4 separate regions of the Homo sapiens genome follow, and regions 2, 3 and 4 are each linked to region 1. The links are contacts of gene promoters, found by promoter capture Hi-C in blood cells and fetal thymus (Javierre and others, 2016). All regions are on one chromosome and are shown on one strand. Each heading gives the region's core, a stretch centred on a gene start or on the middle of the fragment in contact. The rest is flanking DNA. Distances are from core to core; before and after follow the strand shown.

Region 1 (3,293 bases), core at 715-3,214:
GTTCAGTGTCCACTATAGGTTTGCTGGGCTTTTTTTTTTTTTTTTAACAACTTTCAAATAAACCGAGAACCTGCAGCTTTAGTGAAATACGTGATTTCATCGGAGAAAGAGTGAGGGCTGAGGTTTCGGGAATGAAGCTTAAAGAAGATTTTTCCTTTCCTAAAAACCAGCCCCTATCTGCCCAGATCTTTAGTCCTTACCTCATATTCTGCCTATGTGTGTAAAGAGAATTGAATGTAAAATGTGATCTATGCATGTCAATTATATGTATGGTTTATTTTTAAAATATCTTTACCCTGTCAATTTTTTTTTCAGCTACCAAGGATGTTTTCTGTGGTCATCAATTTACTCTTCATATGTGTTCATTTCTTTCCTGGAGCTCAGCGTCTTTTGTGTAAAATATTTTAATTGTTCACAAACCTGGTTGGTTTACCGGCATGAGGTTTTTTCTTGGTGCAAAGTGTGTACAAAGGAGACACAATTTTCTTGTATAAATGTGGAATAATGATAATTCACTAACTGGTCATAAACAACAAGTTTACTGCGTTGGAATATAGTGTGTTCTGAGAGCAATTCTACATGTTTGATGTTTAAAACCAGACACCCTGGAATTCAAAGACACAACTGTCTCAATTATTTTAGCACATGGAGCAGAATGGCAATAGGCTATGAAGTTGTTCTTTTTGCAGTGACTTCTTGAGGTAGAATATGGCTTGGGTTTGGTTCTTGTGACCTGTACTAGTATTATTTCCCATTTGGGGCAGAATCTCTGGGTGCGTTTTAATGACTATATGAATGCTTAAAAGGAACTTGAGGAACAATGAAGTCCGTACTCAACTGTTCTATGACCTAGAAGCATAGTCGGTGAAGTCTTTGTCTGTGTACATTGACAAATGTGCATCTGATACATGTGCGCTTACATGTGTGTACAGAGGGTGTGCACAGGGGAGGCTGGGCGGCTGCCTCCTCCTGTCCATCAGTGGGCAGAGGTCTTTCCCCTCTCACCATGACTGGGTGTGTGGCAGGATGTTGGCTGGAGAGTTAGCTAAAACCAGCGAGAGAGGGTAAAGTTGAGGAAAATTGATTCTAATTGCATCATGACAATCAGATGAAGTCTATTTCTGCTTCTCAGCATCCGAGATGCTTTATTTGGGCAATTAAAATGTCAGGCCACATACCTGTGAAATGTTAACCCTACAAGGAATAAACAGAAACAGAACGGCCTTTATCCTCTGAAAAGAATATATGTCATATATATATGTCACCAAACCGAACAAGTGATCAGAGTTAATTAAGAGAAGGGTTTGCCATCACCCGGATCTGGCCAACTCTTTCGTTTGGAAAATGCCTACAAGCTCAGTTCGTGGCACCTTCCCACCCTCACTCCCTATCCCTCTGCAAAGAAACCAGGGAACTTTTCTTTGGCATTGTGGGTACTAAGATGCGCCAGGAGTCCCGGGTGGTGCGCGAGCGGCGGAATTCGTGACATCGCCAAGTTGCGAGAGGCAAACTCCCCGATTCCATCCAAAGCCTCTCGCGGAGCCTTTAAGAGACGTTGTGTGTGCGCGCTGCGCTAGTCTCCCCGCCGGGGCGGAAACCTCGGGTGCGGGATGTGGGGAGAGCAGAGGCAGCGCTCGCAGGGCCAGCACGGGCCCATCCCCCTCTCGGCGGCGGCGGCGGCGGCGGCGCGGCCACCCCGTCCCCGCCCCCCCAACCCCCGGTCCCCCGCGTGCCCCGCGCCGCGCCGGCGACGCCGCTCGCGCTAGGACCGGGCTGCGCCCGCGGCCGCCATGGCGGGGCCGCCGCAGTCCGGCCAATGACGGCGAGGGGGCGGCGCGCGCGCGCCTGGCCAGGCCAACCCCGGCTGCTGCCTTATAAGGCGCGCCGTCGCCATGGCAACGTGCGCTAAGTTGCAGCAGTCGTGTCAAAGTTCACTATATAGAGAGCTCAGTGAGCTGATCGCGGAGAAGCCACTTCTGCCAGCCCCGGCGCCTATAAATCGCATTCCCTCCCGCGCCCCCCTTTTTAGCATATTTGATCACTTTGATTCTCTGTTCTTTTCTCTCCGCGGTGTGTGTGTGCGTGCGCGCGTGTGTGTTTTCTTCTTCTCCTCCTCCTCTCCCCGAGTTGCCTCCTTTCTCCGGGTGCCGTACTGCCTTTTTTCCCCTCTTTCATTCTTTCTCTCCGTCTTTTTCTCCCCCCTCTGCGCACGAAGGATGTGCTTCTAGGTGGTGATCTGCCCTCCTCTCTCTCTTTTATCATTTCTCCCCCGCCGCCGGCGAGTTGACTCTTTCCCTATGTGTGTGAGGCGGCGGCGGCAGCAGCAGCAGCAGCGGCTCCGGCGGCGGCAGCAGCGGCAGCAGCGACTTCAGCGGCGGCGGCGGCGCTAGACGCAGCGGCTCCGGGCCCGACCCGGCGGCTTCGGCGGCGGCTCCGGCGGCAGCGGCGGCCCGGGCGGCCCGCAGGGAACGGCGAGCGGCCTCCACCCAGCGACTGCGGGCGGCGGCGGCCGGAGAGAGCGAGGCGCGCGCCGGACGCCCGGGGCAGGCGGCGGCGGCGGCGGCCCAGCGCCAGGACGACGCCGCGCAGCGCCCGACGCGGACCACTTTCATGCTGATTCCCCCGGACCCGGGCAGCGCTCCGGCCACTCCGCGGGCCGCCGGCCTCCGCCCCGGCCTGCCTGGCTCCCTGGGCGCGCCCGCACCCGGCGCCTCCGATCTCCTAGTCCTCCTGATTTCGATGGCTTTCCTGAATGGCTGACTGTGGGCTGCCCTGGACTTGGCCCCCGGACAGTCGCCTCTCCTCCTCCTCTACCTCCTCCTTCACCACCACCTCCTCTTCCTCCTCCTCCTCCTCCTCCTCCTCCGCCAACTCCTCGGCTGCACACCAGCTCTAAGAGCGAGAGTGAACGAGAGAGGGAGGGAGAGAGTGAGAGCGAGCGAGATCTTTGGAGAGATTTTTTTTTTTGCCTCCTACTTCTGTCTTGAAGCCAGACAATCGACTTCAGCTCTCCCTCCCCTCCCTCTTTCTCCACGTTCTGCTCCCACTCGCTCTCCTGTCCCCTTCCCCTCCCCTCCCGGCGGAAAGCCCCCCGAAACCAACAAAGCTGAGCCGAGAGAAACAAACAAAACAAACACACCGGGCCAGACAAGCCATCGACAAAACTTTGCAAAAGCAAAAACAAAAAAGGAAAAACTAACCAACCTCAACCAACCAGCCCCCGAGCCACCCGGGGCGCCCTCCCGCGCCCTCTTGCACCCTCGCACACACAAAAGGCGGCGCGCCGGAGCCCG
Region 2 (3,205 bases), core at 607-3,106, 900 kb after region 1:
AGGAACAATCTCAGTGGTAGGTAAGCAGGCGGTGAGAGGTGACAGTGTGTTCGCAGCCCTCACTCGCTCTCTGCGCCCACTCTGGCCTCGCTTGAGGAGCCCTTCAGCCCCCAGCTGCACTGTGGGAGCCCCTCTCTGGGCTGGCCGAGGCCGGAGCCGGCTCCCTCTGCTTGCGGAGAGGTGTGGCGGAAGAGGCGCGGGTGGGAACGGGGGCTGTGCCCGGCGCTGGCGGGCCAGCGCGAGTTCCGGGTGGGCACGGGCTGGGCGGGCCCCGCACTTGGAGCCGCTGGCCGGTGACACTGGCCCCAGGCAGTGAGGGGCTTAGCACCCGGACCAGCAGCTGCGGAGGGTGTCCCGGGACCCCCAGCACTACCGGCTCTCCTGCGCCGCGCTTGAATTCTTGCCGGGCCTTAGCCGCCTACCCACGGGACAGCGCTTGGGACCTGCAGCCCGCCATGCCCAAGCCCCCAGACCCCGCATGGGCTTCCGCGTGGCCCCAGCCTCCCCAACGGGCGCCACCCCGTGCTCTGCGGCCCCGGGTCCCATCGACCACCCAAGGGCTGAGGAGTGCGCGTGCACCGCGCTGGAGTGGCAAGCAGCTCCACCCGCGGCCCCGGCGCGGAATCCACTAGGCGAAGCCAGCTGGGCTCCTGAGTCAGGTGAGGACTTGGAAAACTTTTTTTTTTTTTTTTTGAGACTGAGGACTTGGAGAACTTTCATGTCTAGCTGGAAGATTGTATAGGCACCAGTCAGTGCTCTGTGTCTAGCTAATCCAGTGGGGACTTGGAGAACTTTTGTGTCTAGCTAAAGGAGGTAAATGCACCAATCAGCACTCTGTTTAGCTCAGGGATTTTAAACGCACCAATCAGCGGGACCACGAACCCACCCGAAGGAAGAAACTCCAGACGTATCTGAACATCTGAAGGCACAAACTCTGGACACAGCATCTTTAAGAACTGTAGCACTCACCGCGAGGGTCTGCGGTTTCATCCTTGAAGTCAGCCAGACCAAGAACCCACCAATTCCGGACACAGAGGGACAGCGGCTCTACCAGTTTGGGGTTGTGGTTGTGGTAAGCACATCCCTGGTTGATGCATATGCCATGGAGATGAGAGGGTACCCAAACTATCCACATAGTCTTGTCCAACCTTGGAGTGTGTACATGCATAGAGAAGAAGTGAAAGGGCTGAGCAGAGAAGATAAGGTGAGACAGACATCACCGTGGCTGAAGCTTTGAACACGTTCCCCTAGCCACATGTAGATCCCCTGCGGTGGCTGATCACTAAGCGCTATCAACATGGGGAAGCTCCAGGGTAGAACAAGAATGAAAATGAGCAGAGGTATCAGAAACCACATAATATAGGGGAGAGAAATTTCAGATTTAGCCTAGGAAAGTTAAAGAAACAAATACATCAACAAAAGCAGTAACAAACTTCAGTACACATAAGAGAGAGTGATTATAGTAATATCAGAATCAATTATAGTGAGATAGTAAATACTAGACACCAAAATATTGGAGTCAAAAAATATATTTTGCTAATAGTTTAATGTATGAGGAAAACAATTATAACAGAGCCTCAAAATATATGAAATAAATTATGACAAAATCAAATTAAAAATAGTCATTTCAATTTTAATGCTGGGAGACTTCAGCATCCCATTGAAAATAATTGATAGCATACCTATGGATAAAATGAGCAAAAATATAAAACATCTTATCAACAGTTTCAACAAATCTGACCTAACAGGCATATATAAAACTCTCTAGAGAGAGACCATATAGATTATAATATTTTATGCACACAGAATATATTATTCAGGATGTATCATACACTAGGCCACAGAATAAGTCTCAATGATTTTCAAAACATTAAAATTTCACAAAATGTAATATCTGATTATAATGTAATTAAGTTAAAAATCAAAAACAGAAGGAAATCTGGGCTGGGCACTGTGGCTCATGCCTGTAATCCCAGCACTTTGGGAAGCTGAGGCGGGCAGATCGCTTGAGGTCAGGAGTTAGAGACAAGCCTGGGCAACATGGCAAAACCCCGTCTCTACTAAACATACAAAAATTAGCTGGGCACAGTGGTGGCACGCGCACCTGTAGTCCCAGCTACTCGGCGAGGCTGAGGCACGAAAATCGCTTGAACCTGGAAGGCAGAAGCTGCAGTGAGACAAGATCGTGTCAGTGTACTCCCGCCTGGGAGACAGAGACTCTGTCTCTGCCCCCGCACCCCGACGCCCCGCAAAGAAGGAAGTCTGGAACGTATCCAAATACTTGCACATTTAAATAATCTACTTCTAAGTAACTTATGGGTCAAAGAAGAAAGCCTATAGAAAATTAAAAAATATTTTGAACTGAATAAAAATGAAAGTACATTGTATGAAAAATTATGGGACACAGCTAAGTAGAACTTAGATGGGACTTTTCTGTTTCAAATGCTTATATTAGCCAAGAAAAGTCTCAAAGTAATCATCTAAGCTTCCACCTTAAATAATTAGAAAAAAAGTAGAAAACTAAACTTAAGACAAGTAGAGTAAAAAGAATAATAAAAGAAAAGAAAAAAATGAAGAAAATCAATTAACTCAGAAATTGGTTTCTTAAAATTTCAAGAAAATTGATCATCCTTTAGCTAAACTAACAGAAAAAAGAAAGAAGACATAACTTATCAAAACTAGGAATGAAAAAATGGATATCATCATTAACTCTAACAAATGAATATGATTATAAGGGAATATGATGAACATTTCTTCATATTTTATATTTTGATATGTCAGAAAATTAGGAGAGATAAAATGGCACGTGCCTTAAGAGACGCAAATTACCAAAATTGACTTATGAAGAAATAGAACATTTGAATATACTGATAACAAGCATAGAAAGTATGTAATAACAAATATCCCTCTCTCCCAAAAATTTCAGGCTCAGAAGATTTCTTTGGTGAATACAATAAAATATTTAAACCAAACCAATCTTTTACAAGCTCTTTCAGATGATAGAGGTAGAGAAAACCTGTCCCAACTCATTCTAAGGACTCACGATTACTCTGAAACTGAGGCCTGATGAAGACACCACAATAAAATAAAACTGCAGACCAGGAACCCTTATAAACAGAAACACAGGTATCTTTTAAAAAAATTAGTGAGAAATCGAGCAACATATTAAAAAAGCATCATATATCATGACAAGTGAGGTTTACTC
Region 3 (3,271 bases), core at 351-2,850, 910 kb after region 1:
TCAAGTCGTCTATTTTCTTGTTGATCTCTCTGGTTGGCCTATCTCTTATTGAAAACAGGGTATTAAAATTTCCTACAATTATTATGTTGCTGTCTATATATCTCTCTATTTCTGTCAATGTTTGCTTCATATATATAAGTGCTCTGCTATTAGGTGCATATATAGTTACAATTGTTATATCTTCCTGGTGAATTAAACCTTTATAACAATATATTGTACTTCTTTGTCTCTTGTGATAGTTTTTGACTTAAGGCCTATTCTGTCTGATATAAGTATTGCCAACCCTCCTCTCTTTTGATTAAAATTTGCATGGAAAAATCTTCCATCTTCTTGTTTTCAACCTATGCATGTCTTTTTTATTTAAAGTCAGTCTTTTATAAACAACATATAGTTGGATCTTGATTTTTTAAAAATTTATTTAGCTACACTGTGTCTTTTGATTGATGAGTTTAACCCATTTATACTTAATTACTGAATTATTATTTCCATTTTGTTAATTGTCTTCTGTATGTATGGTATTAGTTTGGTCCCTCTTGTTCTCTCTTGCTGTCTTCCCTTGGGTTCATTGATCCTTTGTAGTGTCATGCTTTTATTTCTTTCTTAATTGATTTTGTTCATCTTCTATAAGTATCTTCTTTGTAGTTATCATGGGGATCCCATACAACATCGAGAATTGTAGCAATCTATTTTAAAATGAGAACCGCTTAGCTACAATTATATACAAAACTACTCTTTCAGATCTCCTTACCACATACTTGTTACTGATGTTACAAATTACATTTTAAAAAATATTTTGTATTCATTAACATTGTTTTACAGTTGTAGTTATGCTTATATTGCTTACATTTTTTACTTGAATTAAAAGTGCTGTATGCAACACCATTACAATATTATAGAATTCTGTATTTATCTCTATATTTGGCTTTACCAGAGAGCTTTATGTTTTTCTGTGCTTTTATGTTGCTACATAGTGTCCTTTTTGTTCAACGCCAAGGACTGTCTTTGGTAGTTTTTATGTAGGTCTGGTAGTGATGAACTCCCTCCACTTTTGTTCATCTGGGAAGTTATTTCTTTTTGGTTTATGAAAGATAGTTTTGACAGATACAGTTTTTATGTTTGGCTGCAATTTTTATTTATTTTTGCCTTTTGAATGTATCGTCCCACTCACTTCGGCCTCTAAAGTCTCTGCTAAAAAACCCACTGATAATCTTATGGCAGCTCCTTTCATGTGATGAGTTGCTTTTCTCTTACTAGTTTCAAGTCTCTCCTTTCACTTTTGTCAGTCTGAATATAATGTGTCTTGATTTGTACCTATTTGGGTTTTTCTTAGTTAAAGTTATTTGAGCTTCTTGAATTTAATGTGGTCTGTTTTCTTCCTCACATTTCAGATAATTTTGGCCATTATTTCTTCAAATAAACTCTCTGCTCTAATCTTTCTCTCTTCTCTTTCAGACTCTCACATAATGTGTATATTGGTCTGCTCGTGGGTGCTGGTACATCAATTAGACTTTCTTTACTTTTCTTCATTCTTTTTTCTTTTTATTATTATGACTTGATAATTTCAAATGACCTGTGTTAGAGTTTACTGACTTTTTTTTTTTTTTGCTTTGTGAGATCTGCTGTTGATCTGCTGTAGTGAATTTTTCAATTCACCTATTTTATTTTCCAGCTCTAAAATTACTTCGCTTTTTCTCATGTAGTTTCTATCTCTGTACATATTCTCATTTTGCTCATTTGTGGTTTTTCTGATTTCATTTAGTTGTCTATCTGGCATTCTCTTGCAGCACACTGAGCTTCTGTAAAGCAATGATTTTGAATTCTTTTTTAGATAGTTTGTAAATATCAATTTCTTTAGAGTCAGTTTCTAGAGATTTAGTTTGTTCCGTTAATTGGGTCATGTTCTCCTGTTTCTTCATGTGTCTTCTTATTTTTTGTTGTAATTTTTTTATTTGAAAAAACAACTAACACTTCGAGTTTTTACAGACTGATTTCATACAGGGGAATACCTTCATCAGTCAGCATGACTAGAGATTCAGAGGGCCTCTCAAACATGTTATGGAAATGCATTTTCTCTGAGCTTGTGCATGTAATTTCCAGATTAGAGAGATTTGCTGGTTTCTTTTTTAGGAGTTTGTGGGCTCTTGCTCTCTCTTGTGTCTGTCTGTGGTACTGCAGGTTCTCCAGAACTATATGCCAAGCTCTCTTTTGTTCTTTGCAGTCCCCAGGCATTCAAACTATGACAGCTCCTCATCAGTGCCCTAAGTCACATGAGACAAAAATCAGTCCCTTAGGTAGCCTCTTAAAAAGCTAAAAAATTGGACATATATTCGATTCTTCTCTTTCCATCTCATTGTAAAAGTCATTAGCAGGATACTTTTTCCCAATTGTGGTGAGCTGTTTTGGCCTTTGTCTACAGTGTGACAAGTACTGGCACTTCTGGCACTGCAAGAAGCCACTGAACTCTCTTTTGTACTAAGTGGCTACCAGTTATCCAAAGTATTTTGGTTCTATATCAGTACTCTGAGTCAGGTGAAAAAAATACCAGTCTCTTGGACAACCTTCCAAAAATCACACACACACACACACACACACACACACACACACACACACACGTTTTCTATTCCTGTATTTTTTTCTTTAAGCTAAATTAGAAGATGATTAGTTGCTTCAGGTTACAATTTATATAGGAATATTTTAAATATTTTTAGAGAAATATATTCACTTCATTAATGGATTTGGAAATAGATTCCTGAAATAGAAACTTGAAAAAATACTACACATTTACTTATTTAAAAAATCCATTTTATATTCTGCTTTGTTTTGAGAATGTAGTTTGAGTACAAACCAGATTATTTCTGTAAATATGGAGAAAATGTTCATCTTAGTGTATCAAATATAGTGAAAGAAACCAGAATTCCACTGCTTCAGAAGTATCACTTAAGTTCACATTAAATATTTTTCTGAGGAAATATCCAGTTTAATAATGCTATAGTTATATTTAAAATAACATCTTAATAAACATGATAAGGAACTAGAAGTGAACAAAAATATCCAGAGGTCACTTATTCTTTGCAACCTCGATTTTCTTTTTTTCTTTGTGTGTGTGTGAGAGACCAGAATTGTTTAAATACTCAAATCAATCTCCCCAAGCATTAGGGGAGCAGAGTTTTTAAGGATTACGTGGTGGATTGGGGGAAGCCGGTGAGCCGGGAGTGCTGATTGTTCAGGGATGAAATCTTAGGGAGTCAAAGCTGTCTTCTTGCGCTGAGTC
Region 4 (3,641 bases), core at 1,100-3,599, 600 kb before region 1:
TTTCTGCAATCAGTAAAGTACTGGATAATTTAAAACACTAAAATATGCCATTTTTCTCATGCCAATAAACCAAAGAAAAATCCACTGATAGAGATGATAACAGTGTGAAGAACATGACAGGGAGATCAGAACAGAGGAAATAGCATGCTAATGACATTCAATATTCTCCCTGTGTGAAGTCATCAGCATTTTTATTGCAACTATTTCTCAGCATACACTATTAGAATTTATTGAGTCAATCTGTCTCCATCACCTGTGATATAATATATTTTATTCAATAAGATATGAAATAATATTTATCTTTCAACTCCAATGACTGGTTTTCAGGACAATAACTGCCTATCAACCAAGCATTACAAGAGTAGGAGAAGTTGTACATTTTAATATCTGACCTGAGAGTTGTCATTTTAGCATCTGCACATTTGGTATTAAGAAGGGTGCAGACTTCAAGAAATCACTCAGATTCAACAGTTATGGCAAAGGATGGCATCAAATTATGTTTTAAATCAGTAGCACGGTGAAGCATACTGCGTGAAGTTGAGGAAGGAAAAGAGTCGACTCTGAAGTTAACTCTACAAGACAGTTATACTAGAATCTCTATACCAGAAATAAGAATTAAGCTCACGACTGAGCTCATTCATCTCATAAAAAAAATGGGAAGGGAAAAAAATTTTTTTAATGTCTCAAATAGCCCTCATTTAAAATTGAGACAGAAATGAATCTGTAAGTTATGTTTTCAAGTTGTCTGTCTGAATCTGGGGCATTCAGGGAAGCACATTGTGTCTGATTTTCCATGTCAGCCACTTGGAAGGAAAACTAGACTGTTGATGGCTGCGTGGTTCTTTGGAGGGCGGCGTGTAGGTTTCAGTCAGCCACGCGATAGAATTAACCAAGTTCCCAACTTTCTGCACTGTTCAGCTCCCTGGTGGTCTGTCACCTCAGGTAATTTTGAGAAAAGAAAGAATTGAGTCTTTTATTCCCCTATGTGCTTTGATAAACATTTATTTCATATCCGCTTTTTTCCAGCTTTCCCCTCAGAAACCCCATGTCAACCTGTGACAAAGAGGTGTCACAGCACTGACATGATTGAGTTGGTATTTGGTGGTTTCACCTCAGAAACGAAGGGGTCCACAACTCCTGCTGGTAAAAAGCACTAATTCATCTGCTGTTAGCTTTACTCACCAGGAAGTCCCCTCTCCCAGTCAGAGAGCATAGAAGTGCACAGAAGCTACTTCCTGTCAGGCAGTTCATTGCTTGATTGTGTCAACTACTGCCGGCCTGCATGAGTGGGTCAGGCAGCAGGTAAAATACAGAAATATCTGCCTTCCAACAAGCTGTTGAGATGTCATCTCAACACGTGTCCTGGTGACACCATGTGTGCCCAAGGCAGCCATCTTTACCACTCTCTGCCTCCTTTTTTTTTTTTTAACTGTAGCCTGAGTTTTATTAAAATTAAACAAATTTAAAAAGTCAACTTTCTATGCCCCAACCTACATGTGCTTACTTATTTATTGCATATTAGAAGAAAGTGGAAAAATGTGGATGTTGAAATCATCGTATTTGAATTTGAATCCCAGTTGAGTTATTTACTGGCTGTTTCATCTTAAGTGAACTCCCTCTGAGCTGCATTCTCTTTATCATTAATGCCTGCATTTAAAGGCCCATGGTAAAGACAAATGAAATCATATATATAAAGGAATCGCCTCTCTGTGTGACTCATAAGTAGGTGCACTTGCTTTCCTCAGCGGGGGCAAAATGAAACAATTAAACTTTTAGGTTATATTATTCTCTCAAAAGAAAACATAGGAGAGTGCGGCTTGTTGGTTCATTTATTTACTTATTACTGCACAGGAAGAGGGAGACAGGAAGGAGGAAGTGTGGTCAGGAGAGATCATGCATTAACCCCATTGAGAATTGCTCTAAGTGTGTGTTTTGTGTATCCTACTTATATCTTCTTAGTGTCCCCATTTTAAAAGCACGTCCTTTCTTTACTTTGCCACTGCACAGGATGGTAACAATCAGATTAAAAGGAGTGTATGAGGTTTAAGATTTGTGTTGAAGCTTTACTGAAGTCAAAAGAAGGTGTTATATTCCCAGCTTAGTGGGAGAGTGCTTGGCACAGGAAACCTCAGCCTCAAATCCTTGGCTGTCCTCCATAGATTTGAGGTTGCTTTGTTGTGTGTGTGTACTTTTGTGTATTGGAGGGGAAGGGGAGGTGCTGGAATTGGGGTGTGACTTTGGGGAAAGTGAATGGAGTGGGGATATCTGATAAAGAGATGTGTGGGTTTGGATGAGTTCCCATTTTTTGTGCTCTGGCTTCAGGACTAGACAGTCATATGTACCAATGTTAGCTCTACCAATCGGAGCAGGTATTACTGTGGCCAAGTGCTTCAACCACAAGGCACTTGACTTATCTGTTGGTTGGGGAGAAGAATATCTATCTTATGGAAACTAAATGAGGAAATATATGTAAGGTACATGGAGCAGTGACTGTTCATCGCTCATTACATGTTAGTTTCCTTTTTAAAATGTGGCTTCTTACCTTATATCCTGATGTAATTGAATCAAGGAGAATGACACTGTGACATCTATTCCCCTTGCAAAAATGCTGAGCAATGAAACAGCCACTTTAGACCTTAAGCTTTCTCATAGACAATCTATCTCAAAACTTCTCTCCCATTAAATAAAACTACACTTCCTTGGACCATATGTCCTGATTAGATGTTCAAATGATATGGTTCTATGAAACCTACATGACACCCTTTATTGTATATGAAAATGAACAATCCAATTAATCATCAAGACTGAAGCCAGCTCCCAATCGCTCAGATGGCCCTAATGGAATGGTAGGTTATTGGATATTTATTTAATGAGTTATTGAGAACCTACAAAGTGCCAGACACTGTTCTAGGTGCTGGGGATACAGAAATAAATAAGATGTGAGAAGTCCCTGAACTTCAGAACTTGCAGGACAGTGATGGAACCATACAAACTATCAAATACCTGCACGAAGTGGTGTCTGGTCCTGATTAAATTCTAAGAAGAAAACCAAGGCAGGATACAGGGATAGACAGTAAAAGAGGGGAAAGGTCTACTATAGATAGGAATGGTCAAGGAAGTCGTCTTGGAAGAGGTAATGTATCTGAGATCTTAATGAGGTAAAGGAGAAATCCAGGCAATGAACTGGAGGAATAATATTTCAGAAAGAGAGGACAAACTAACCTGAGACAGGAGAAGACTAATACAAAGAATACTGTGGTTGGGGCTTGAGAGAGCCAACATATGAGGAAGAGAGATCTGTCAGGTAGGATATAGGTGATAGAGATGTATTAGTCCATTCTCACACTGCTATAAAGAACTACCTGAGACTGGGTAATTTATGAAGAAAAGAGGCTTAATTGACTCACAGTTTCACAGACCTAACAGGAAGCAGGCCTCAGGAAACTTACAATCATGGCTGATGGTAAAGGGGAAGCGAACACCTTCTTCACATGGCAGCAGGAGACAGAGAGTGAAGGGGGAAGTGCCACACACTTTTAAACCATCAGATCTCATGAGAACTCACTCACTACCACAAGAACGGCAAGGGGAAATCCACCCCCATGATCCAATCACCTCCCTCCAGACCCCTCCTCAAATTT

The links. Contacts are between HindIII fragments. The CHiCAGO score rates a contact against its expected background, and 5 or more counts as called.
Region 2: a fragment that was not itself captured here is called in contact with the fragment with the promoter of NR2F2 in region 1 in 3 of 17 cell types (M1 macrophages, M0 macrophages and M2 macrophages); the score reaches 6.5 in M1 macrophages.
Region 3: a fragment that was not itself captured here is called in contact with the fragment with the promoter of NR2F2 in region 1 in 1 of 17 cell types (M2 macrophages); the score reaches 6.2 in M2 macrophages.
Region 4: a contact is called between a fragment that was not itself captured here and the fragment with the promoter of NR2F2 in region 1, in 1 of 17 cell types (endothelial precursors). The highest score is 6.3, in endothelial precursors.

The regions. Positions count from the first base shown.
Region 1 is chr15:96,328,736-96,332,028 of GRCh38, forward strand. It overlaps NR2F2 (nuclear receptor subfamily 2 group F member 2), which reads left to right and starts at 1,965. Exons shown (of 3, transcript NM_021005.4): 1 at 1,965-3,293. RefSeq lists a silencer at 1,718-1,857. The HindIII fragment of the contact is 6,805 bases long and covers 136-3,293 here.
Region 2 is chr15:97,224,059-97,227,263 of GRCh38, forward strand. No RefSeq gene overlaps it. Among named protein-coding and RNA genes, the nearest start is that of LINC02253, 8.6 kb to the right of the region's middle. The HindIII fragment of the contact is 1,254 bases long and covers 1,230-2,483 here.
Region 3 is chr15:97,243,808-97,247,078 of GRCh38, forward strand. All of the region lies in intron 2 of LINC02253 (long intergenic non-protein coding RNA 2253), which reads left to right. Among named protein-coding and RNA genes, the nearest start is that of LINC02253, 11 kb to the left of the region's middle. The HindIII fragment of the contact is 8,464 bases long and covers 1-3,271 here.
Region 4 is chr15:95,732,894-95,736,534 of GRCh38, forward strand. No RefSeq gene overlaps it. Among named protein-coding and RNA genes, the nearest start is that of LINC00924, 300 kb to the left of the region's middle. The HindIII fragment of the contact is 580 bases long and covers 2,060-2,639 here.